7 separate regions of the Homo sapiens genome follow, and all the other regions are linked to region 1. Evidence: promoter capture Hi-C in 16 types of primary human blood cells and fetal thymus (Javierre and others, 2016). All regions are on one chromosome and are shown on one strand. The core of a region is centred on a gene start or on the middle of the fragment in contact, and the rest is flanking DNA. Distances in the headings are between cores, read along the strand shown. Region 1 holds the start of RBM12B-AS1 (RBM12B antisense RNA 1). Region 2 holds the start of DPY19L4 (dpy-19 like 4). Region 3 overlaps VIRMA (vir like m6A methyltransferase associated). Region 4 holds the start of TRIQK (triple QxxK/R motif containing). Region 5 overlaps VIRMA (vir like m6A methyltransferase associated). Region 6 holds the start of RAD54B (RAD54 homolog B). Region 7 overlaps RAD54B (RAD54 homolog B).

Region 1 (3,008 bases), core at 316-2,815:
TGAGATGGAGTTTCACTCTTTTGACCTGGCTGGAGTGCAGCGGTGCGATCTCGGCTCACTACAGCCTCCATCTCTCGGGTTCAAGCGATTCTCCTGCCTCAGCCTCCCGAGTAGCTGGGATTACAGGCGCCCGCCACCATGCCAGGCTGACTTTTTTGTATTTTTAGTAGAGACGGGGGTTTCGCTTTTTGGGCGGGCTGGTCTCGAACTACTGACCTCAAGTGATTCGCCCGCTTCGGCCTCCCAAAGTGCTGGGATTACAGACGTGAGCCACCGTGCCCGGCCACAGGAGCTTTTTAGAAGATGTTTTACGCCACACAGTAATGCAACACTGAAAAGACAAGTCGCCTTTTCTCTGCTTTTGCATCTCTTTCCTTAACTTCTGGAAATCTTTAAAGTTTGTCCGCCGTACTTCGACAGTTGTCTACCGAAGATTCTCAGCACATCTACCGGCTGAGCCCTGAATGTGTCTCTGAATTTCTCCCGTTGAAAGTCGAGGTCCCTGGGCTGGGCAGAATCTGGGCATGCGCAGAAGCTCAGCCAACCCCGGGGCTCCGCCTCCCCTCCTCTAGCGAGGGGAAACGGGTGAGCGGCAGCGCGCGTGCGCAAGCTTGGTGGTGGGTTGCGCCTGCAGAGCGCATGGGCAGATAAACCGTACGTCCGTTTGTCCGGACCGGAGGGGCAGTGGGCGCCATCTTCTTCTGGGCTCACTGAGGGTCTACCTGTTTTGGGGAGGCTGCTGCGACGAAGAGTTCCCTCAGCCTCCGGCCTTGTGTGTCCGACTCGGCAGCAGTGGTGTGTGTTTATTGCCAAGTGCGAAGCAGTTCCCCTCGGGGCGCCGGGGGTGGGGAGGGCTGGGCGACCAAGCCGGAAGAACGGGGAAAGGCGGGACCGGCGGCCGCGCCAGTATCTAGCGTAGCTCCTGCCGTTAGGGCACCCTCTTTTCTTGCTAAAACACCGACTCTTCCTTTCCCGTCAGCTTCCATGTGGTGGTGTATGTGCGCTTCCCAGGGATCTTGAGAGTGAAGATCTCGAAGGATTTCATAGGTATATTTTTTTCTTTGCTATGTCATCGTAGTCAGTGGTGGCAGAAAAGCGCTGCAGGCCCAGCTCGTTAGGCTTGAGAAGGGCAAGTGTTTTCAGTTAGATCTGGGGGCAGTTCACCCTCTGGCGAGTTAGGGTGGAATGTTTGCCCTTGAGACGGCGTAACGGAAAGGCACGGAGGTTGGGCGGTCCAGGTTAATTTGAAGGCTGATTTTGGCTGAAAGTCTGGCGACAACATCGGATCCCACGTAGCAACTTTGGCCTGGCGCGAAAGAAGGAAGCTCTGACCCCTGGGAGTTGTGGACAAAGGCTTTGGGCTGTAGAATCGATGCCTTCGGATGATTCCCGTTTGAGGATGTTGGGAGAAATCCTGTGCCATGTGGATTCGTCTTCATTTACAGTTCTTCCTAGGGACTGTGGCTCTCATTGGTCATTCCTTTGGTTTTTATTTTAAACATCTACATTATAAAAGGTGGATCATCGTAAAGAATAATTATGGGTTGGTGTAGATTATTTTCTGCAGGGGAAACTCACGTTTAGAGTGTGAATATGCTACATCATGACCTTGGGCTTTACGAAGTAGTCGCAGAGTTAAAAAAAATTCTCTCCCTCACCATATCTGGAAAATGACTTTTTCTTCGCTAGTTAAAAATCAAATGGATCTGATGAGATATTACTTATTTAAATTCTGTCTCCCTCCCGTTTCCCTCTCTGTATCCCCTTAAGTCTTGATTAGAAGAGGCACGTTACGTATTGTTTAGTTATAATGGTGATTAAGTGGGATGAATCGTTGGATAAAAATAGCAGTTATTTAAAATGCGCTTTAAATTTCACTGACTTAAGTGATCTTTTAGGGACCCACTCTTCTTTTCATAGAAATTTTAACAGATTATTGTCTTCAAATGAACACAAAGGCACAAAAATACTTTTTGCATTCATAACTAGAAAAACGCAAAATTTTAATTGCAGACTACTTGAGGGTAATTTTCGTGTTTTGCTTTTGTGTAATTTAGTGTGTTAAGAGTTGAATTTCTGGAGAATTTGCTTAAGGAAATATAGCATGTTGGAACCACAGAAGTGCCCATTTTGAGAGCTGGTCTCTTACAGTTGGTCTCCAAGGTGTGTTATTGTAGAGGCATAAATGGTACATTACCCTACTGTCTCAAGGGTAGAGAAGTTTAAGCATTAGTTTTGTTTAACTGTGGCAAATGAGAATAAACTTTCTAAATAGTCTGCTTGAATTGGAATTCATGAGATTTGTGCTCATGAAACTACTTGGTTAAAAGATAGTTTTTAAGTGAGGTAGGATAAATTACTAGAGTTTTTTTGAATTTGAGATATAATTATTCCTTGAAACGTCTCTAATTTCTCTTGTAGATGAATTTATGTTCCCAGGGTAAATCCCGTTAAAATTTTTTTAAAAGCTTAGGAGAGACAAGAATATGTATAGCTTATGGTGCTTTCTAAAATATCTTAAAAAGAGTAGCTAAGCCAATTTGCATAGGAGGGAGTCTTGGGACTTTAATATGGATAAAGTAAGTATTCCAGAAGCCATTTGTAGTTTTTGTTGAAGTGTTAGTATGGATATTGGTTTGTTGAAGAAAATAGGCTTTTTTTCTTTTTTTGTTACTGTGCAAATACTTTAATAGCAAACCTGATTAATATTTTTCAGATGTAGAATGTGTGAAGTAATTTGATGTCTTTGCTAGTTTAGCTTCTGGTTAATCTACGTACCCTTTTTTAAAGGAAAACAGACCTCAGTGAATGTATCTTCAGACCCCCACTTTGGGGAACAGTGGTACTTAAGTGTAAGTACTGGATTCTGGATTAACGCAACATTTATTTGTACATTAAAGACATGTAAATTACTCCAGGCGCAGTGGCTCATACCTGTAAATCCTAGCACTGTGGGAGGCTGAGGTGAGCTGATTGCTTGAGCCCATGAGTTCCCTACCAGCCTGGGC
Region 2 (3,008 bases), core at 297-2,796, 980 kb before region 1:
TTTTAGTTAGAATGTCTTAAATTCAGACCAGCTTTAACACTCTGAAAACTCAATGGAAACAAATATGAACCAAGCCTGCATAGGGACAGGTCAGCAAGTCACACATCAGTAAACACTTCTTATGCTTAATTTTTAAAAATTGCTTTCCGCTGAATCCTTTAAACTCCTTCCTTGCACTCTTGATTCAGAAAGGCTTGAGTCGGCTGGACCCGTGGCTCACGCCTGTAATCCCAGCACTCTGGGAGGCCGAGGTGGGCGGATCACCTGAGGTCAGAAGTTCAAGACCAGCCTGACCAACATGGAGAAACCCCGTCTCTACTCAAAATATAACATTAACCGGGCGTGATGGCGCATGCCTGTAATCCCAGCTACTAGGGAGGCTGAGGCAGGAGAATCGCTTGAATCCAGGAAGCGGAGGTTGCGGTGAACCGAGATCGCGCCTTTGCACTCTAGACTGGGCAACAAGAACGAAACTCCGTTTCAAAAAAAAAAAAGGCAGGGGGGCTTGAGTCTAAATTAGATCGATTTACTATCACATCCACAGCTCCACTCATAAGGTAAAAAGTTGTGTTTTCCACCAGAATGCAAAAATCTAATTGCTTCTCACTTCCTGAAACTAGTAGGGGTTATCATGAAGTTACTATGCCATGAGTATTCCTTGTATTGTTTATCACTAACCGATAAGTTTCATCTAACTTCCCATTTTTGTCTCATACTTATCATTTTCTATAAATAAAATACTGCTGAATGAATTACTTATCTTAGCATTGATCCTGAAGGCGGCATGGAAACCTTTCTCCAGCTCACCCACTTTGACCCTCAAAGGCCTCCTGGCCTCATCATCTCCCAAAACTATAATAATTAGATGGCTCTGCTCTTTACCATTTTCCCCTGAACCTAAGTGAACTTGGCTTTCTTCAGTTTCTGCGTGTTCGCCCATTCCCAATTAATCTTGCCACGTTTATCCCAAATCCCTGCCTCTTTATCCCCGTGGTGAATGTTCCCTCGCCCCCTGTGCCTCTGGGTTTGTCAATATCCACAGCCCTTTAAAAATCGCATTCCAAATATGCACTGAGTACCTAAACCTGATCTTCGAAACCAAACTGCGCCTCCCACTTCACCAAGAATCTGATCAGGACCCTCCCTCTTTCCCAACCACTCCCGGCACAGCTTTCTCTCTTGCTACGGATTCCCAACTTTCAGCTCCACCTTTGCTTCCCAATTCGGCCGACAAAACTTCGGGCCATTTGCTCCGCTCTCCTGAATTTCTCCGCAGTCCTCTCCTGGGCGCCGCGCTCCTTCCCGCCCTGCCCGCGCGGCCGCCACCGCGACCGCGGCCACCAGCAGCTCCAACCCAGACCTCCAGCGCCCCCGCCCCTCCTTCCCGAGACCACTGGCAGCCGTTGGCGCGCTGGACCCCGCGGCAATCACCTTCTTCCTCCGCCATCGTTTCTGCGAAGGCTAGGGCGCCCTGCGGCTCCCGCGCGGCCCAGACTCTCCCTCCCTCCGCGTCGCCGAACCCCTCGGCCTCCGGGGGCCCGCTCCTGGCCGCCGCGCCCCCACTTCCTGACCCACCCCCCTCCGGTGTCGCCGCCAACCGCGTCCCCGCAGGCGGCCCGGGAACCAGAGTGTTGGGAGAGGGGAGCGGCCGGAGCGTTTCGCTGGGGCGCCGGGGCCTGCGCGGGCAGGAAGGAGACTCCACGCCGGGAGTGCAGCCCACAGCTGTAGCTCCTGGCCGCCGCCTGCCCTGGAAAGCGAGACTGGTGGGTCTCGCTGCAGCCCCGCCCCTCGTCCTACTCTTCCCAAAAAGTGAGGGCATGCTTTCCGCCACTTTTGTGACTCCGCGACTTAGCGAGTCAGAGACGATCATCAGCGACACCTCCCAGGTCCAGCCTCCATTCCCGCCCCATTTTACATGGAGGAAACTCAGATCTAATGTGGTGGAAGTCACAAAGCCGGTCAGAGGCAGAAGTGGAACCCGGTGCTCCAGAACTGCCATCGCTGCCTGCGTTCTCGCTGGGATTTCAGAGTGCAGCAGCAAAACGTTCTCAGTTGGCGCTTTGGTTTCGTAGGCCACTTGACCATTACAAGAAAGAAGCTTGTGCTTGGAACTTGTTTTAAATCACCAAAACTGGTTTAGCAAATATGTTGCATTTCATGATATTCTGGGGGGGGGGGCGGGGAGATAATACAATGGTCTGGGGTAGAGCAGTGTGCAATTAGATATTACAGAGCAATAGGGAATAATTTTAATTTGTTAAACTGTGTTTAACTTTCATTATATCTAGCATTCTTCAACAAACACCGGGATCTTTTCCCCAACAGTACTCAGAAGTAAATTTAGTAAATGAAATATACCCATTTTAGATCGGGAGAAACAGGCACGAGAATTCACTGAAGTCATGGGGTAATTATGGACACCCCATTATTAGCAGGCAGCAAGATTCTCCTAATAGCACCTTTAAGTTAGGATATTTGGGGAGAGGCTATCATTTTTCAGTGATGTGCAGAAACGGTTCCAGGAACTTTTTTTTTTTTTTTTTGAGACAGAGTCTCGCTCTGTCGCCCAGGCTGGAATGCAATGACTCGATCTAGGTTCACTGCAACCTCCGCCTCCCAGGTTAAAGCGATTTTCGTGCCTCGGCCTTCCCAGTAGCTGGGACTACAGGCGCAAGCCACCACTTAATTTTCATATTTTTAGTAGAGATGGGATTTCACCATGTTGGTTGGCCAGGCTAGTCTCCAACTCCTGGCCTCAAGTGATCCGCCCACCTTGGCCCCCCGAAGTGCTGGGTTTACAGGTGCCCACCACCACGCCCGGATAATTTTTTGTACTTTTAGTAGAGAAGTGGAGGGGTGTGGTTTCACCATGTTGCCCAGGCTGGTCTTGAAATCCTGACCTCAAGTGATCCACCGGCCTCAGCCCCACAAAGTGCTGGGATTACAGGCATGAGCTACCACGCAGGGCCTCCAGGAACTCTTTTTATGTCTGGTTCCCCGTAAAGATG
Region 3 (3,008 bases), core at 149-2,648, 790 kb before region 1:
TTCTATCAAAATATAATGGAGACCTACAAAACTGTGTGATAGGTAAATGCAGAGAAATAAAAATTCTGGAATGTGAAATTGTTATAAAACGAATCTACAATGGTTTTGCTGAAAGTATTTGGTTTAACCTGATGATATTAGTTCTTACTTAACTTAAAACAACCAGTTTTTTTTGGTCTTAAAAATAATCTCTCAAGAGGACAAGCATAATTTCTTTCCTCCTGAGATAGATATTTTTGTTACTTTGAGGCATTTCTAATTATATTTCTGTGAGGAAAAGATATCTGTTACAGTTAGTTGTAAAACTGAACAGATACAGAGGAATTTGCTTAAAATGTTTGTCCAGTTTTCAGGTCTCACCCCTTTCAGGAAAAAAAGAAGTTTGTCCATAATTCTATTAGAAATTATAAAATGTTGTAAAATTGTGGGTAAGATGTTGGGGCAGAAGTTGGTTTTGTTGAGGAAATCATTTTTAATGTTTTATTAAAACTATTTCTTGTTCAATCAGAATTTATGTATTAGACAAAGATGATGTAATACTTAAATATTATTCATACTAATTTTCAGGGGATGATGGTTATGAACAAATTTCCAGTGATGAAGATGGAATTGCTGACTTGGAACGTGAAACATTTAAGTATCCAAACTTTGATGTTGAATACACTGCTGAAGACTTAGCTTCAGTTCCTCCTATGACATATGATCCATATGACAGGGAGCTTGTACCACTCTTATACTTCAGTTGTCCATACAAGACTACTTTTGAAATTGAAATCAGTAGAATGAAGGATCAAGGTCCAGATAAAGAAAATTCAGGGGCAATCGAAGCCTCAGTGAAGTTAACAGAACTCTTAGATTTGTATAGAGAAGATAGAGGTGCAAAATGGGTAACAGCTTTAGAAGAAATTCCAAGTTTAATAATAAAAGGGTTAAGCTATTTGCAATTGAAAAACACAAAACAAGACTCCCTTGGCCAGTTGGTAGACTGGACCATGCAAGCTTTAAATTTACAAGTAGCGCTTCGCCAACCTATCGCCTTAAATGTTCGACAGCTCAAAGCTGGGACCAAATTAGTGTCCTCACTAGCAGAATGTGGGGCTCAAGGAGTTACAGGACTGCTACAAGCAGGAGTGATCAGTGGATTATTTGAACTTCTGTTTGCTGATCACGTATCATCTTCTCTTAAGTTAAATGCTTTTAAAGCTTTGGACAGTGTCATTAGTATGACAGAAGGAATGGAAGCTTTTTTAAGAGGTAGGCAGAATGAAAAAAGTGGTTATCAAAAGCTTCTGGAACTCATACTTTTAGATCAGACTGTGAGGGTTGTTACTGCTGGTTCAGCTATTCTCCAAAAATGCCATTTCTATGAAGTCTTGTCAGAGATTAAAAGACTTGGTGACCATTTAGCAGAGAAGACTTCATCTCTTCCTAACCACAGTGAACCTGATCACGACACAGATGCTGGACTTGAGAGAACAAACCCAGAATATGAAAATGAGGTGGAAGCTTCTATGGATATGGATCTTTTGGAATCCTCAAATATAAGTGAAGGGGAAATAGAAAGGCTTATTAACCTCCTAGAAGAAGTTTTTCATTTAATGGAAACTGCCCCTCATACAATGATCCAACAACCTGTTAAGTCTTTCCCAACGATGGCACGAATTACTGGACCTCCAGAGAGGGATGATCCATACCCTGTTCTCTTTAGGTAAGACATGTTTGCCTTTTGGGAAATAAATTTCACAAATCATTGGAGACAATTTTATGTGGTTGATTTTGCTTTTTATCTGATTGTAGGTAACTTATTTATGTGTAAGGATACTTGATATTTCAAAACGGTTATTTAGTAGTGGAACTGAGAAGTATGTTACTGTGGGTGAGCTTATATTGTGTTAGTTCTTAAAGCAAAAATGGGAACTTCAGTGAAAGATTTTAGTAATTAACAATGATGCTTGTATAAGCATGTCTATGAGCAAGAATAAATGAGAAACTGCTGACTTGCTTCTGGGAAGGTGGTAACAAAGGAATGGTGTAGGAAGGAGAGCTCTTCTGTGTGAACCCATCTGTACTTACTACTCTTAATACATTGTAAGTTAAAATTATATTTTACTAGCTTAATTTTACAGTGCTGGTTAAAGATGTCTTTAAGTTTCCATTACTACTTGTTTCTGCCATCTACCTCTCTCATCTGTTGATACAGTTTTGCCATTGTTAGGACCAGCATCCCTAGTAGATTTTTTATTTTGTTTTGAGACTTTCTTTCTTACCATTTGCCTGTAAATAATTTCCTAACATAAAAATGGAAAAATGGCATTTGAATTATTTTATTACTTATTTTTGTGATTAATATTTTCATTGATTTGGATGGAGCATAGTGCATTCCCAGGGGATGGGATATGTGTCCAGTCTAAAACCTCCACTTATCCAAGTTCCTGTTTTTAGCTGAAACTGTTACACCTTGTCTTAGTTTTGAGTTTCCTAAAAGGATAACTTGAGTCAAAGTCTTGGGTGCAGGTTCTTTGAAAGATTATCCTAGGAAGCAGAAATGCCTGAAGAGAGTAAGATAAGGAGAAAAACCAGTAAAGGAAGTGTTATTATACTTATTGCTGTGGACAGCTGGGGCTCATCCTACTGGGGATCCTCCGAAGAACTGGTTAAAGTGTATCTCCTGCTTATCCTCCTAAAACATTCAGGCTGGGCATTCGTCTACCAACTCTCCCCTTTGGTTCAAGGATGCCCACAAGAAACTTTTAACTCTTTTATGCTTCTGAGCTGTTCCTGCTTGTGGTCCGAGCACCCTTTAATCCCTTTGGGGGGAACCCTGAGAAAGAAAGGTAGAGAGGCCCAAAGTGAACACTTGAGGCCAGATACTGGCAACCCTCACAGATTGTGTACTGGGAAATCAATGGGTCAGTGATGGGAGGTTGGGGAGCAGTAATATGTAAGAGATGGGCAGAGAATGCATTTAGGCAGGATACTTAGAAGGAATAGAAAGACAAAATGAGAAG
Region 4 (3,008 bases), core at 134-2,633, 770 kb after region 1:
ATTACAGGCATGAACCACCACACCTGGCCAAACCAAATATTTTTAAAAGATTAAAGAAAATGGGGACTCTGAGTCATACAAATCAAGAAAGTTTTATAGAGAGTTATTCACATTTAGCAAGCTTTCAGAAGAATTTGGATATTCAGCAGGTCAAGAGTGTAAAATTATTTGTAATTGGAATGGGTTTCTTTTATTCCAACAATTGCATCACAGTACGATGAACATTTTAATTGAATCTCAAGGCACTTGTCCAGAGGTACTCTTTTTTTTTTTCTTTTTTCTTACTACAACCGTATCTATCAGACAAGATAAACCCTTCTGGGTTTTGGTTTAATATGGAAGGAAAAAGAGTTTCACTATTTTAAAGCCACACACATAAGTAATCTGGTTAAGTGTATTAATATAATCTCATTTAACTCTACCTTTATTTCTGGGAGAGGAACTGGAGACCAGAAAATGATTTAGGAGGACGGAAAATAAAATTACATTTTGGATTCAATTCCTGGCCATAATATTCTGTGAGATTTCAGAAAGCCTTCTGGTTAGTCTATTTATACTTGTCTCAGTTTTTTTTTTTTTTTTTTTTTTGTATGCTACTTTCTTTCTCAAGGGCTTTTGGAAAAAGATATGATGGGGCTGGCCTAGAGGAAGGTGACTTTTATGTGAGCAAGAGAAAAATTAAATTGGAGGTTGCATAATTTTTTGAAGGAATTTTAGATTTAGTTCACCACAATATTAAAAAATGATGGCTGCAGGCACTTAGATTTGTTGAATGGTTGAATAAATCTAGCCTTTCCTAGCCTGTGTTTCATTGTCCATAGGCTGTGGATAATACTCTTAGTGGGTTTTGTAAGGATTACATGAGTATAATTTATAAAGCATTTAATATTTGAATACTTTTCCAATAAGTAACATCTTAATATTTCATTCCCATTTTGTAGATGTGAAAATTGAGTACCCGAACATAGGCTCCTAAATCCTAATTGTCAGTCACGTTTTTGCAATCTTTCCTAAATTTATTAATCTCTGGTTAATGTTAATATAAAACGATTTTTTTTTCTTTTTTGCTGTTTGAATGGGCAATTAATTGATTGTTTACACAGACAGTGCGCCCTTCCACTTAGGGACGCTCCTTAGGGATGATCCTGTGAATTGGGGAGTGTGTGTGTGTGAGATGGGAGGGTTCAATAATCAAAATAACATATTTTTCCGTTTTATATTAACTAAACAAGTCACAGTCTTTATTTTTAATTTCTACAGTCACCTCGTGAGACAGGTATTAGAACTCCGGAGTGGCATCAAAATGAGGGAAAGGCCTCAGGGCCAGCGCCTTTGCGTCCTGGACCGGCGTACAGACGGGAGAAAGGCCGACCAATCCGAGAGCAGGCTGAGGCCTGGTCCCGCCCCTGGGGGCAGAGCCTCGCCTCTTTTCCGCCTCACCCTTTGGGAGTAGGGGTGTGCGGCTGGCTTGTCCCGCCCCTGCCCCTGAGTGACAGAACCGTGGACAGCAACATTTCCCACAGGACACGAAGTTTGTCGGCCCTTGCCTTGGCAGAGCTGAGGTGTGTGTCCGGCGAGTGCGAGGGGATTGGGGAGACCCTGCCCGGGAAGCTCGGGGTCCGGGAATGAAAGCGGGCGCACCTCTTTAGCGAGCCCTAAAGCGTTTGGGAGACGATCGTTCCGTCCCTGGGAGCGGCACTTGGTGGGGCTGGGCGGAGGGAGGCTCTGCAAGAGAAACCCGGAGTCCGGGAAACCCAGTAGGTACGGTGATCACTGAAGGACCCGTTCCCGTTGAGTAGGGCGCTGGCTGCGGGATGGGGGATGGAGGGTGCTGGGTTCGGTGGGCGTGGCCATTGCGGTTGCTAAGGAACGCGCGGTTCCCGCCCTGCCAGCGTGTCTGGCGCCAGCCGCTGGGCCCTGGACACGTTAGTCCCGCCCACCTCCCAAGGTCTTCCACGCGGCTCGGGATTGGCTCCTTTGTGCTGACCGATTACTCGCGGTCGCTTACTTGTCAGTGCAGCTCTCTGGGTTCTGCCGTTCCCTTTTGGGGCCCCCTTTCCCATGGTACTCCTCTTCACTCTTTTTCCTGCTTCCTCTTATTAATGAACGAGTATTTGCATACCAAAACATTTGCAGAGAAGAGATTCAGACAGGATTAGGTGGCTTTATCGGTGGTGGTGAGGTTGTGGGGCGGGGGTATTTTTCTTGGAGCTTGGTGTATTCCTGAATCCATCAGATGTTGGTGTCCGCGTGGATGACTAGGAAAAGGGGATTGGAGATTAGGTTTCTTCTACTTGGAGTTCTCTGCTGCTTGTTTGAGCTTAATAAGCCTCCTGAAGAAGTTGAAGCAATTTATTGCTAGAGGAGCCCCAATGTATAATCTCCCTTTCATTCTCTACTGTGGAGAGGTGTGCTAAACCTGTAGAGCTGTTTTTGCTTCACTCGGCTCATACTTAATGATCAACAAGTATGGTGTGAGATGGTAACCTCAGATAACCATTTTAAATCTGCCTTTGTTTGCTCATATACTCTGTCTCCTAATGATTCAGCACAACAAACATTCCAGAGAGAAAAAACAAAAGAGGTAAAAATCTTTTATTTTCCTCTGGCAGGTTTACAGTGCAAACCCCCAGGAAGGAAGCTTGTGCTGCTTGTTAACATTGGGAGGAGCATTGGCCTACAAGTCAGGAAACTGGCATGGTTAAGAAATGTTTGTCCTTGGGCAATAATTGTTTCGTTATCTGTAAATTGGAGACTCTAGGATATGCCCTTCCTTCCTAAAAAAGGAGGAATAATTGGTTGTGAAAGTATCATTAAAGTAATGATCCACACAAATGTAAAGCATTATTGATTACACTTTTAATCTTTTTGTGTATATGATCCAAATTTATAAACACGTATAAGTATTGCCATTCAGCTTTAAGTATTTTCAAATTTCCCTTGTGATTTTTTTTTTTTTTAATCTTAGGGTTATTTAGAAATGGGGAAGAAATTAACTCATCTATTCA
Region 5 (3,008 bases), core at 347-2,846, 760 kb before region 1:
AATGATGGAGTAAGTTTTATTCTGTCTGAAGTGAGTTCATTTATCATACCAGTTTTATATGCTCATATTTTAAGATAATATCTTCTCTTTATTTTCTTTATTTACAGTTCTTTAAGGAAAAACAGTAGTGCTCTGCATAGTTTACTGAAACGAGTGGTCAGCACATTTAGTAAGGACACAGGAGAGCTTGCATCTTCATTTTTAGAATTTATGAGACAAATTCTTAACTCTGACACAATTGTAAGTATGTGTGTGTTTGTGTTTGTGTATATATGTATGTATGTATTTGGTGTTTCTTAAATTTGAAATCTTTGGCCAAGTACGATGGCTCACATCTGTAATCTCAGCACTCTGGTGGGCTGAGGTGGGAGGATCTCTTGGGGCCAGGAGTTTGAGACCAGCCTGGGCAAAATAGTGAGACCCTGTCTTGAAAAAAAGAGAAATACTTTGCCGTAAGTTAAATCACTTTATATATTAAATATCCAACATAAAAAAGATCACTTTAGTTCATTTTATTTTATTTTATTTTATTTTAGATAGAGTCTCACTCTGTCATCCAGACTGGAGTGCAGTAGCACAATCTCGGCTCACTGCAACCTCCACATACTGGGTTCAAGTGATTCTCCTGCCTCAGTCTCCTGAGTAGCTGGGATTACAGGCACCTGCCGCCATGCCCAGCTAATTTTTTGTACCTTTTTAGTAGAGATGGGATTTCACCATGTTGGCCAGGCTGGTCTTGAACTCCTGATCTTAGGTGATCTGCCCACCTCGGCCTCCCAAAGTGCTGGGATTACAGGCATGAGCTACCGCACCTGGCCAAGTGCTTTCATTTTAAAATAATTCTTAGATGAGTGTGGTGGCACGTGCCTCTAATCCCATCACTTTGGGAGGCTGTGGTAGGATCGCTTGAGCCCAGGAGTTTGAGATCAACCTGTACAACACAGCAAAACTCTGTCTCTAGAAACAACAAAAATTAGCCACACGTGGTGTGCCCACCAGTAGTCCCATCTATTTGAGAGGCTAAGATTGGAGGATAGCTTGAGTCCAGGAGTTGGAGACTGAACTTAGCTATGATTGTGTCACTGCAGTCTAGTCTAGGTGACAGAGCAAGACGCTGTCTCAAAAAAGAAAAAAATTTATGACATTGAGTTACCTTGCTAGGGCAACTCAGAATAATGAAGTTTTGTTAGTCTCTTTGTTATTTACTTATTTTTGTTACTTAATTTACTGATTGTTTTGGATGTTGTGATTTTGGGATAACTGTAAAGTTTATTATGCTTTAGTATTTTTGGTCTATCGTACAAATATGAATTAAAGATTATTTTCCCCACTCTAAAATCTTATTGTTAAAATTTAATTAAGATTTCTCTCATTAGTATTTTCCAAAGTCATGGTATATTATGAGCACAATTCCAGAAGCCATTAATATGCCTGCCTTACTTAGTTTGGTGGCATGTGCCTCTAGTCCCAGCTGCTCAGGAGGCGGAGTTGGGGAAATCACTTGAACCTATGAGTTCAAGGTTGCAGTGAGCTATGATCGTGCCAGTGTATTTCAGCTTGGATGAAAGAGTGAGACTCTCTTTCTCTCCCTGTTTTTTTCCTGAGACGAGGTCTCACTCTGGTGCCCAGGCTGGAGTGCAGTGGTGTGATCATGGCTCACTGCAGCCTTGACTTCCTTAGGCTCAGGTGATCCTTCCACCTCAGCCTCCTGAGTAGCTGGGACTATAGATGTGCACCATCACACCCGGCTAATTTTTGTATTTTTAGTAGAGATGGGATTTTGCCATGTTGCCCAGGCTGGTCTTGAACTCCTGGGCTCAAGCAATCCACCTGCCTCAGCCCCCAAAAGTGCTGGGATTAGAGGCATGAGCCACCATGCCTGGCCAACTCGTCTCTTAAAATAAGAAAAATAGGCCGGGCATGGTGGCTCACTCCTGTAATCCTAGCACTTTGGGAGGCCAAGGTGGGTGGATCACTCGAGGTCAGGAGTTCGAAACCAGCCTGGCCAACATGGTGAAACCTCGTCTCTACTAAAAATACAAAAAATTAGCTGGGCTTGGTGGTGGATGCCTGTATCCCAGTGCTTGAACCCCGGAGGCAGAGGTTGCAGTGAGCTGAGATTGCGCCATTGCACTCCAGCCTGGGCAACAAAGTGCGACTCCATCTCAAAAAAAAGAAAAAAAAAGAAAAAGAAAGAAAGAAAGAAAAACAGGTTAGGCAAGGTGGCTCACACTTGTAATCTCAGCATTTTGGGAGGTTGAGGTGGGAGGATTGCTTGAGCCCAGGATTTGAGATTAGCCTAGGTAACATAGTGAGACCCCATCTATATGAAAAATTTTAAATTACCTGGGCATGGTGGCACGTGCTTGCAGTCAGTCCCAGGTACTTGGGAGGATGAGATGCAAGGATCACTTGATCCTGGGGAGGTCAAGGCTGCAGTGAGCTATGATTGTGCCACTGCACTGCAGCCTAGGTGACATAGCGAGACCCTGTCTCAACAGCAACAAAAAAACAAGGCTAAAGATTTTATACAATGTTTAGGTAGGCATACGGCCCTCTACCATAAGTGTATGTGACAATATGGATGGTTTTCTTATCATGAAGCAAGATTTATTTTGCTGGAAGGATTTTCTGGTATTGAAATGTTATCACTCCAGAATTCACTTTATTATGTAGCATACTTTTTAAAGCAGAAAATATTAACTTTTCTATGTGACAGAATATAGTCTTAAATATGATAGTTACTATTTTCTTTAGTTGTTTGTGTTATCTTCAGAAAGATAATTTCAGGTTTCATCAGTTCTTTGTTATAGCAAGCATTTTATTAATTCTTGAGCATCAATCAGTGTGTCACGTCCTACAACTGCCAGTGTTTTGCCATTCGGTATTTTGTTGAAAAGTCTTGGTGCCAGTAAAATATATGTTTGCTTATTTAAATATTTTGTGAGTCTTACTCAAAGAAAACATACTTCACCTTTCATCTAAATCCTTAAAACTAGCCATTTGTA
Region 6 (3,008 bases), core at 325-2,824, 740 kb before region 1:
CATGGGTACAGCAGAGAATAAAGCAAAGATCCTGCCCTCATGTAGCTTATATTCTGAGAGTAATAGAAAAACAATTAACAAATAAGTATATGTTAGGGAATGGAAAGTGTGATGAACTCTATAAAGCAGGGTAAGGGAGATACAAGATGAGACAAGAGAGCAATGCACTGTCAGATAAAGCCCTTTGACAAGTTGATATGTGAGTAATGATCTGAAGTGAAGGATCAAACCAGATGCAAATCTGCAAGAGGAATGTCCCAGGTCACCTTTAGCCAATCTGTTTTAGATTTTCTGAACTCCCCAGATGATATTAAGGTAGGCTGCAGACACTATGAAGCTAGCTTGTTTTCTGGTTACCCTTACTCTTTATGTGTCCCAGTCCAAAGAAGAGGGGGGTGCGGTTTACTAAGGTGCCCAACCTTGGCAGGTCCCCATTTCAAATTCTTGTAACGCTGGCTCCAGGAGCTGCCAAAAGCACAACTCAACCTATGAGGTGCTCTTTATGACTGGAAAAAGTCCCCAGGATAAAAGCTCCTTAAGCACATTACTCTTTTTTTTTGAAACAGGGTCTCTCTGCTGCCCAGGCTGGAGTGCTGCGGCACCATCTCGGTTCATTGCAGCCTTCACCTCCCAGGTTCAAGCGATTCTCCCGCCTTAGTCTGCTGAGTAGCTGGGATTACAGGCGCGCTCCACCAAAACCAGCTAATTTTTGTATTTTTAGTACAGACCGGGTTTCACCATGTTGGCCAGGCTGGTCTCGAACTCCTGACCTCAAGTGATCCGCCCGCCTCGGCCTCCCAAAGTACTGGGATTACAGGCACAAGCCACCGCTCTCAGCCTCAAATTACTCTTTTAAATGGCTGTACCTATTTACACTCCTACCAGCAGCCCAAGAGTTCCCATTGTTTCACATCTTCATTTCACCCTTGATATTTTTTAGCTTTTACTTTTTGTCAAACTGCTGGATAAAACTCAATAAACAACCTTTAGCCATTCTCTCTCCTTTCAGATTAGCCTTTCTAATACCATTTTTCAGGGATAGTTGACTGTGTTACCGCCTAGCACTTAGAAGGTGCTCAGTAAATACTCATTGAATGATGTAACTTTCCTACTTAACATGCTTTAATGCTTTTCCAAGTCCGGAGGCGGCTCCCCTTTTCTGAGAGCCTAATAATCACGTATTCGTTTCTATATTCCCAGAACCTAACAAAGAGTTTGAAAATTATCCTGCAGGCACCGCTAAGTCAATGTTTTTTCGGATGAATGAATAACCAATAGGATATCGTATACTTCTGCGATGCACGCATTTCTATTATCGCACACACCGAATCATACCGTATTTATTACTTATCCACGCAGATGGTGAGGTCTGTAGCCTCGGCATCTACACTGTGTCTGAAAGTAGGCACTAAACCAGTATTTTTTTAATTGAACCGTAAACTTGAATCAAACTTGGAAGCATTTAAAGCCAAACGCAAAGATACATGCGCAGTGATGCAGTAGGGTCGTCCAATCAGAGTAGGGCAGGACAGGGCAGTGCAGCGGCTAGGTAGTGCGCACGCGCGGCGGGCTCGTCCGCGATTGGCTTCGCCGAGGCGGGATCCTTGAGCTTCTCCGGCGGCGAGGGGATAGCTGGTTACCAGAAGGACTTCTTTGCAGGGCCAGTGGTTTCTGTCAGATTTTCGCCGGTGCGTCCTGCAGGGGGAAGCTCGGGAGGCTGCGACAGCCTGTAGGCTCGTGCGGGACAAAGCAGGGAGTGGCGCCGGAGCAGGCCAACGAGGGAGGAGGGAGGGAAGGCGGCAGGAGCGACCGAAGTGGCCTTCTGCGGGCCTGCAGCTTTGGTCTGAAGTGCCAGGGACGCCCTGGTTGCTGGCCCCGGGGGCCTTGGAGCGAAGGGCGGGCGGTGGGGGTTTAGGGTTGTGCGTTTGTGTGGGAGGGATGGTTCTGGGCAGTGGCCCCTGGGGCCGCCACTGCGGTCGCTTTGCGCAGGCTCCTCTTGGCTTTTGGGTCTCTCCCTCACTCCTGCACTGGGAATTTCCTTCCCCAGGGCCAGGGGGTGAAGGCTCTGCGAGCGTCCTGGAGAGTGTCGGTACGCCTTCTTTAGGGGCTTTTACCTCTTCACTGGTCAGGTTTTTCTTGTATTTCCTTAAAACCTTTTAATCGATTACCTTATGGAAGATTTTCTAGGTAGGAACAGATGCTTCTCGACTTACTACGGGGTTGAAAATATCCCAAATGGAAAATGGATTTAAAACACAGCTAACCTACTGAGTATTAAAGCTTGGCCTAGCCTACTTTTGTTATCAAAAAAATTATTTTCAGCTGTTTATTTTAGATTTGGGGGTACATGTGCAGGTTTGTTGCATCGGTATATTACGTGGTGCTGAGGTTTGGATACGATTGATCCTGTCACCCAGGTAGTGAGCATGTTACCCAATAGTTTTTGAACCCTTGCTCCTCCTTTCCTCTCCCTTCTAGTTGTCTCCACTGTCTATTGTTGCCATCTTTATGTTCATGAATGCCCAATGTTTAGCTCCCATTTATAAGTGAGAACATGCAATATTTGATTTTCTGTTTCTGCTTTAATTCGCTTTGGATAATAGCCTCCAGCTGCACCCATGTTGCTGCAAAGGACATGATTTCATTCCTTTTTATGGCTGCGCTAGCCTACCTTAAACATGCTCAGAACACTTACCTTAATCTACAGTTGGGCAAAATCATGAACACAGACGGTTGTGTGGTTACTTGTACAGTTTCTACTGAATGCTCATGGCTTTCTTAAAAGTCGAAGAATTCTAAGTGACACCGTCCTAAATTAGGAACCATCTATATAGCCGGAGTCTCAAAGGAGCAATTTAAGGCATGAAGTGAAATAATTACTACCTAATGTAGTTGGAAGTCGACAAGCAGCAACAGCAGGGAGAGACCGTTGCTGGTTCTTGGTAGAGTTGGTGTACTTACATTCTTGCATCCTCGACGTTTGATGGTTGCACATACCTCTCTTTAAA
Region 7 (3,008 bases), core at 142-2,641, 720 kb before region 1:
TGGAGTACTTCAAATCAGAGTTGAATTATTATGATACATACTTGCATGAAAACCAAGCATTTAACAAATGCTCCATCCCTCTATTGTTGAACTGAGTTAAAATAATGATTATGGTTCTTTTTGTATATGTAAGAGAACACTATTTGTTAGGTAACTAAAAAAATAATTAAGATGGTTCATAGATGTTTATTTGGTCTTGTGAAAGCCATCATTAGACTGTATTTTTCCAAATTACATTTTATTCATGTTTTGGTTGAATGAACAGATTCAGCCAGCCGGCCCCATCTGTTGGGCTACAGAATAGTAACTGCCATCCTTATGATACCAGTGCAAATCAACAAAGTGCCCTAAGCACCATTTTGAAGGAAGTTCTTGGACTTCCTGATGATTAATGAATTTTACCTGTGAATGGGTTTGTATCTTGTCCGGACAGAAAGGAATTCTGTATTTACCTAACTGGCCATTATCTTGGTGCCATTTATGTGCTCCTCATAACTTTTCAAAAGCTGTGACTGGTGTCAGAACAAGGTGGAGAAAGACTTTTTGAGCTGATTCAGTATAGGAAGATCCCTAGGAACAGCTCTGGGCATGGCAGTTTAGCTCTGCTCTATCTTACTGACTTGCTCTCCCTTCTTTCCTCCCTATTTTCCCCACTTCCTCCTTCCTTGCTTCCATCCTTGTTAGGTGACTATTCTGTTTTCCCAGATTTTCTTTTCTACTTTAAGCCCGAGGTAGAAAATGATCCATGTATGCCCAGTTCTTTTCTAATTTCTTCATCAGAAAATGACATTTAGACTCTGGAATATAATACCTTTTATGTTACTAATCTTGGGCTTTATTTGTATTCTACCATAGTTTCTCATTCTCTTCCCTGCTAAATTTGAGAAGGGAGTTAAGAGTTAAGATAAAATAAAGAGGGAGTTAACTTACTCAACTCCTAATCCCGTAATCCTTTCTCTGATTAGTACATTCAGTGGACTGGAGAACCTGTGCCAACCTCCTGATACCCTCCTGTTTCTTGTTCAGAAAGAGGTTAAATTGGGGAAAAAAGCTTTGTGAGAAATGTTTTGTTCTCTATGGTGGATTGTTGGAGAGGGATGTAGCATATAGAAAAGCATAGAGATGAGAGACCTGTTTAGTATCCACTCACCCTTTCACATCTTTTTCATTCTTGATCTAATCCACCTTGAAATGAACTACAAATCTGTATGTCCCAGTTAAATAACATATGTCATTTTCCCCATCACCTTTTTATTTTGAAATATGCCTACAAACTCTCGAGTTGAAAGAATGACGCAATTAACATCCTAAACTCACCAGTTACTAACATTTTGCCTCATTTGTGTGCTTTCTCTCTTTTTCTCTATGTAGATGCACTCCCCTCAACCTTTTGAAAATAAGTTGCATATATCATGCCACTTTACCTCTAGCCACTTAAGTGTGTATTTCTTGAAATAAATGTTTTCTCCTGCATAACCACACATTGTTATTATACCAAACAGGATTAATAGTAATTCATAATATTTAGTTCATTGTTAATGTCATTTTTGCTTAAGCTAGTTTCAGTTTGGTTTCTCTTTCAACTGAAAGAGCCCTGATAAGTACATTTTCACTTTCTTGAATTCACGGGACACTTTGAGTCTCTTCATAACACTGCGTGTTTACAGATAATATCCTTTGTGTGAGAATGAAGATGTAGGTCTACCACTAATGACTTCCCCCAAAGCTTAGGGAATGTGATTTCTTTGGGGGTTGTGGTAGAATGGCCATAGGACCCACTTCTATCTTTTTTGATCCAAGCTCCACAGGTGTTTCTTTTCATGAACAATCCAGTTCAGTACTTTTGACCCTGGGCTTTCAAAAACCAAATTCTGGGAGAGGGGAAATGTAGTGGCTTCAATTGTGTCTCCTAAAGATATATGTTAAAGTCCTAAGCCTTGGTACCTATGAATGTGAACTTATTTGGAAATAGGGTCTTTGCAGATGTAATCAAGATAAAGTCATACTGGATTAAGATAGACCCTAAATTTAATGACTGGTGTCCTTATGAAGAAAGAGATAGAAACACAGAGGGAAAAAGACCATGTGATGGTGGAAGCAGAGATTGGAATAACCACCCATGATTGCTGGAAACCACCAGGGGCTAGAAAGAAGCAAAGAAAGATTCTCCCTTAGAACCTTCAGAGAGAGCATAGCCCTGCTGCCACCTTGATTTTGGACTTCTGGTTTCCAGACTGTGGGAGAATAAATTCTGTTGTTTAAAGCCACCCAGTTTGTTACAGGAGTCTCAGAAATAAATACAGGAAGCCCCAGATCTCTTGGGTATTCAGAGCTATATAGTTTCTTTAGAAAAAGAGAAAGTTTTTTTATTCTTTCTGATTCTTTCTCATTCTGAAGAACTGTGAGAGGAGACTATGCCATCTTCTGTTATCTGTTTACCTGAATCTCCTTCACAAAACTGTGACATGCAAAGGCAGGAATGTTCTCTTGTTAAGGTTTTAAATCAAACTATATAGATTTAAAAATGTTTTGTGACTGAACAAAGAGATCCTGAGAAACTTACAGTTTTCTCTAGTTGAGTCTCTTGGCTGTCTTTGGCTTCAGAGTGCTTCAGGGAAGTCAAGTAGCCACAAAGAGGCTATTGGAACATTATAGTTTGCAGGCTCTGGTAATATTTGAGAGAATAATTTCACAAGTGTTTTGGAACAAAAGTCATGCTGTAATGGATATGTGATGAATGGAAATAGGCCAGTGGAGGAAGTGAATGCGAGTAAGTATGTAAATAAAGTTTGTAAGTAAATAAATAAATTCGGTAGTGAAGGAAGTAGTATCTCGAGGAATGGTAGGGGGCTAGAGAGTTTTGTTGTGTTTTTGTTTTAAGGTAGTATGTTGTAGGCTGAGAGGAAAAAGGTAGTGAAGAGTGGAAGATTAAAGGTATAACAGGGGAGTGATAAAAATCTTTCCCCATTGGAGAAGTTAGCTAAATGTTTCTTAAGTGGGTCTTAGGT

Evidence for each region. Contacts are between HindIII fragments. The CHiCAGO score rates a contact against its expected background, and 5 or more counts as called.
Region 2: a contact is called between the fragment with the promoter of DPY19L4 here and the fragment with the promoter of RBM12B-AS1 in region 1, in 4 of 17 cell types (activated CD4 T cells, naive CD4 T cells, non-activated CD4 T cells and 1 more). The highest score is 6.9, in activated CD4 T cells.
Region 3: a fragment that was not itself captured here is called in contact with the fragment with the promoter of RBM12B-AS1 in region 1 in 1 of 17 cell types (non-activated CD4 T cells); the score reaches 5.1 in non-activated CD4 T cells.
Region 4: a contact is called between a fragment that was not itself captured here and the fragment with the promoter of RBM12B-AS1 in region 1, in 5 of 17 cell types (erythroblasts, fetal thymus, naive B cells and 2 more). The highest score is 13.1, in erythroblasts.
Region 5: a contact is called between a fragment that was not itself captured here and the fragment with the promoter of RBM12B-AS1 in region 1, in 2 of 17 cell types (non-activated CD4 T cells and total CD4 T cells). The highest score is 5.3, in non-activated CD4 T cells.
Region 6: the fragment with the promoter of RAD54B here is called in contact with the fragment with the promoter of RBM12B-AS1 in region 1 in 10 of 17 cell types (total CD8 T cells, naive CD4 T cells, non-activated CD4 T cells and 7 more); the score reaches 13.4 in total CD8 T cells.
Region 7: a contact is called between a fragment that was not itself captured here and the fragment with the promoter of RBM12B-AS1 in region 1, in 1 of 17 cell types (activated CD4 T cells). The highest score is 5.0, in activated CD4 T cells.

What each region holds. Positions count from the first base shown.
Region 1 is chr8:93,738,668-93,741,675 of GRCh38, reverse strand. It overlaps RBM12B-AS1 (RBM12B antisense RNA 1), which reads right to left and starts at 1,565. Exons shown (of 1, transcript NR_027259.1): 1 at 857-1,565. RBM12B (RNA binding motif protein 12B) reads left to right here and starts at 667. Exons shown (of 4, transcript NM_001377960.1): 1 at 667-795; 2 at 980-1,047. RBM12B-DT (RBM12B divergent transcript) reads right to left here and starts at 593. Exons shown (of 2, transcript NR_183450.1): 1 at 217-593. RefSeq lists an enhancer at 641-760. The HindIII fragment of the contact is 1,858 bases long and covers 613-2,470 here.
Region 2 is chr8:94,718,438-94,721,445 of GRCh38, reverse strand. It overlaps DPY19L4 (dpy-19 like 4), which reads right to left and starts at 1,546. Exons shown (of 19, transcript NM_181787.3): 1 at 1,432-1,546. The coding sequence starts at 1,447. RefSeq lists a silencer at 1,419-1,738 and an enhancer at 1,499-2,453. The HindIII fragment of the contact is 11,065 bases long and covers 1-2,100 here.
Region 3 is chr8:94,524,923-94,527,930 of GRCh38, reverse strand. VIRMA (vir like m6A methyltransferase associated) reads left to right here. Exons shown (of 24, transcript NM_015496.5): 8 at 568-1,708. Among named protein-coding and RNA genes, the nearest start is that of VIRMA, 27 kb to the left of the region's middle. The HindIII fragment of the contact is 220 bases long and covers 1,289-1,508 here.
Region 4 is chr8:92,964,561-92,967,568 of GRCh38, reverse strand. It overlaps TRIQK (triple QxxK/R motif containing), which reads left to right and starts at 1,425. Exons shown (of 5, transcript NM_001171797.2): 1 at 1,425-1,562. RefSeq lists a silencer at 1,329-1,438 and an enhancer at 2,109-2,218. The HindIII fragment of the contact is 2,520 bases long and covers 124-2,643 here.
Region 5 is chr8:94,496,606-94,499,613 of GRCh38, reverse strand. It overlaps VIRMA (vir like m6A methyltransferase associated), which reads left to right. Exons shown (of 24, transcript NM_015496.5): 17 at 108-240. Among named protein-coding and RNA genes, the nearest start is that of RAD54B, 23 kb to the right of the region's middle. The HindIII fragment of the contact is 3,367 bases long and covers 1-3,008 here.
Region 6 is chr8:94,473,681-94,476,688 of GRCh38, reverse strand. It overlaps RAD54B (RAD54 homolog B), which reads left to right and starts at 1,574. Exons shown (of 15, transcript NM_012415.3): 1 at 1,574-1,688. RefSeq lists an enhancer at 1,612-1,841. The HindIII fragment of the contact is 4,488 bases long and covers 1-2,282 here.
Region 7 is chr8:94,454,884-94,457,891 of GRCh38, reverse strand. The region is part of intron 3 of RAD54B (RAD54 homolog B); the gene reads left to right. Among named protein-coding and RNA genes, the nearest start is that of RAD54B, 19 kb to the left of the region's middle. The HindIII fragment of the contact is 675 bases long and covers 1,054-1,728 here.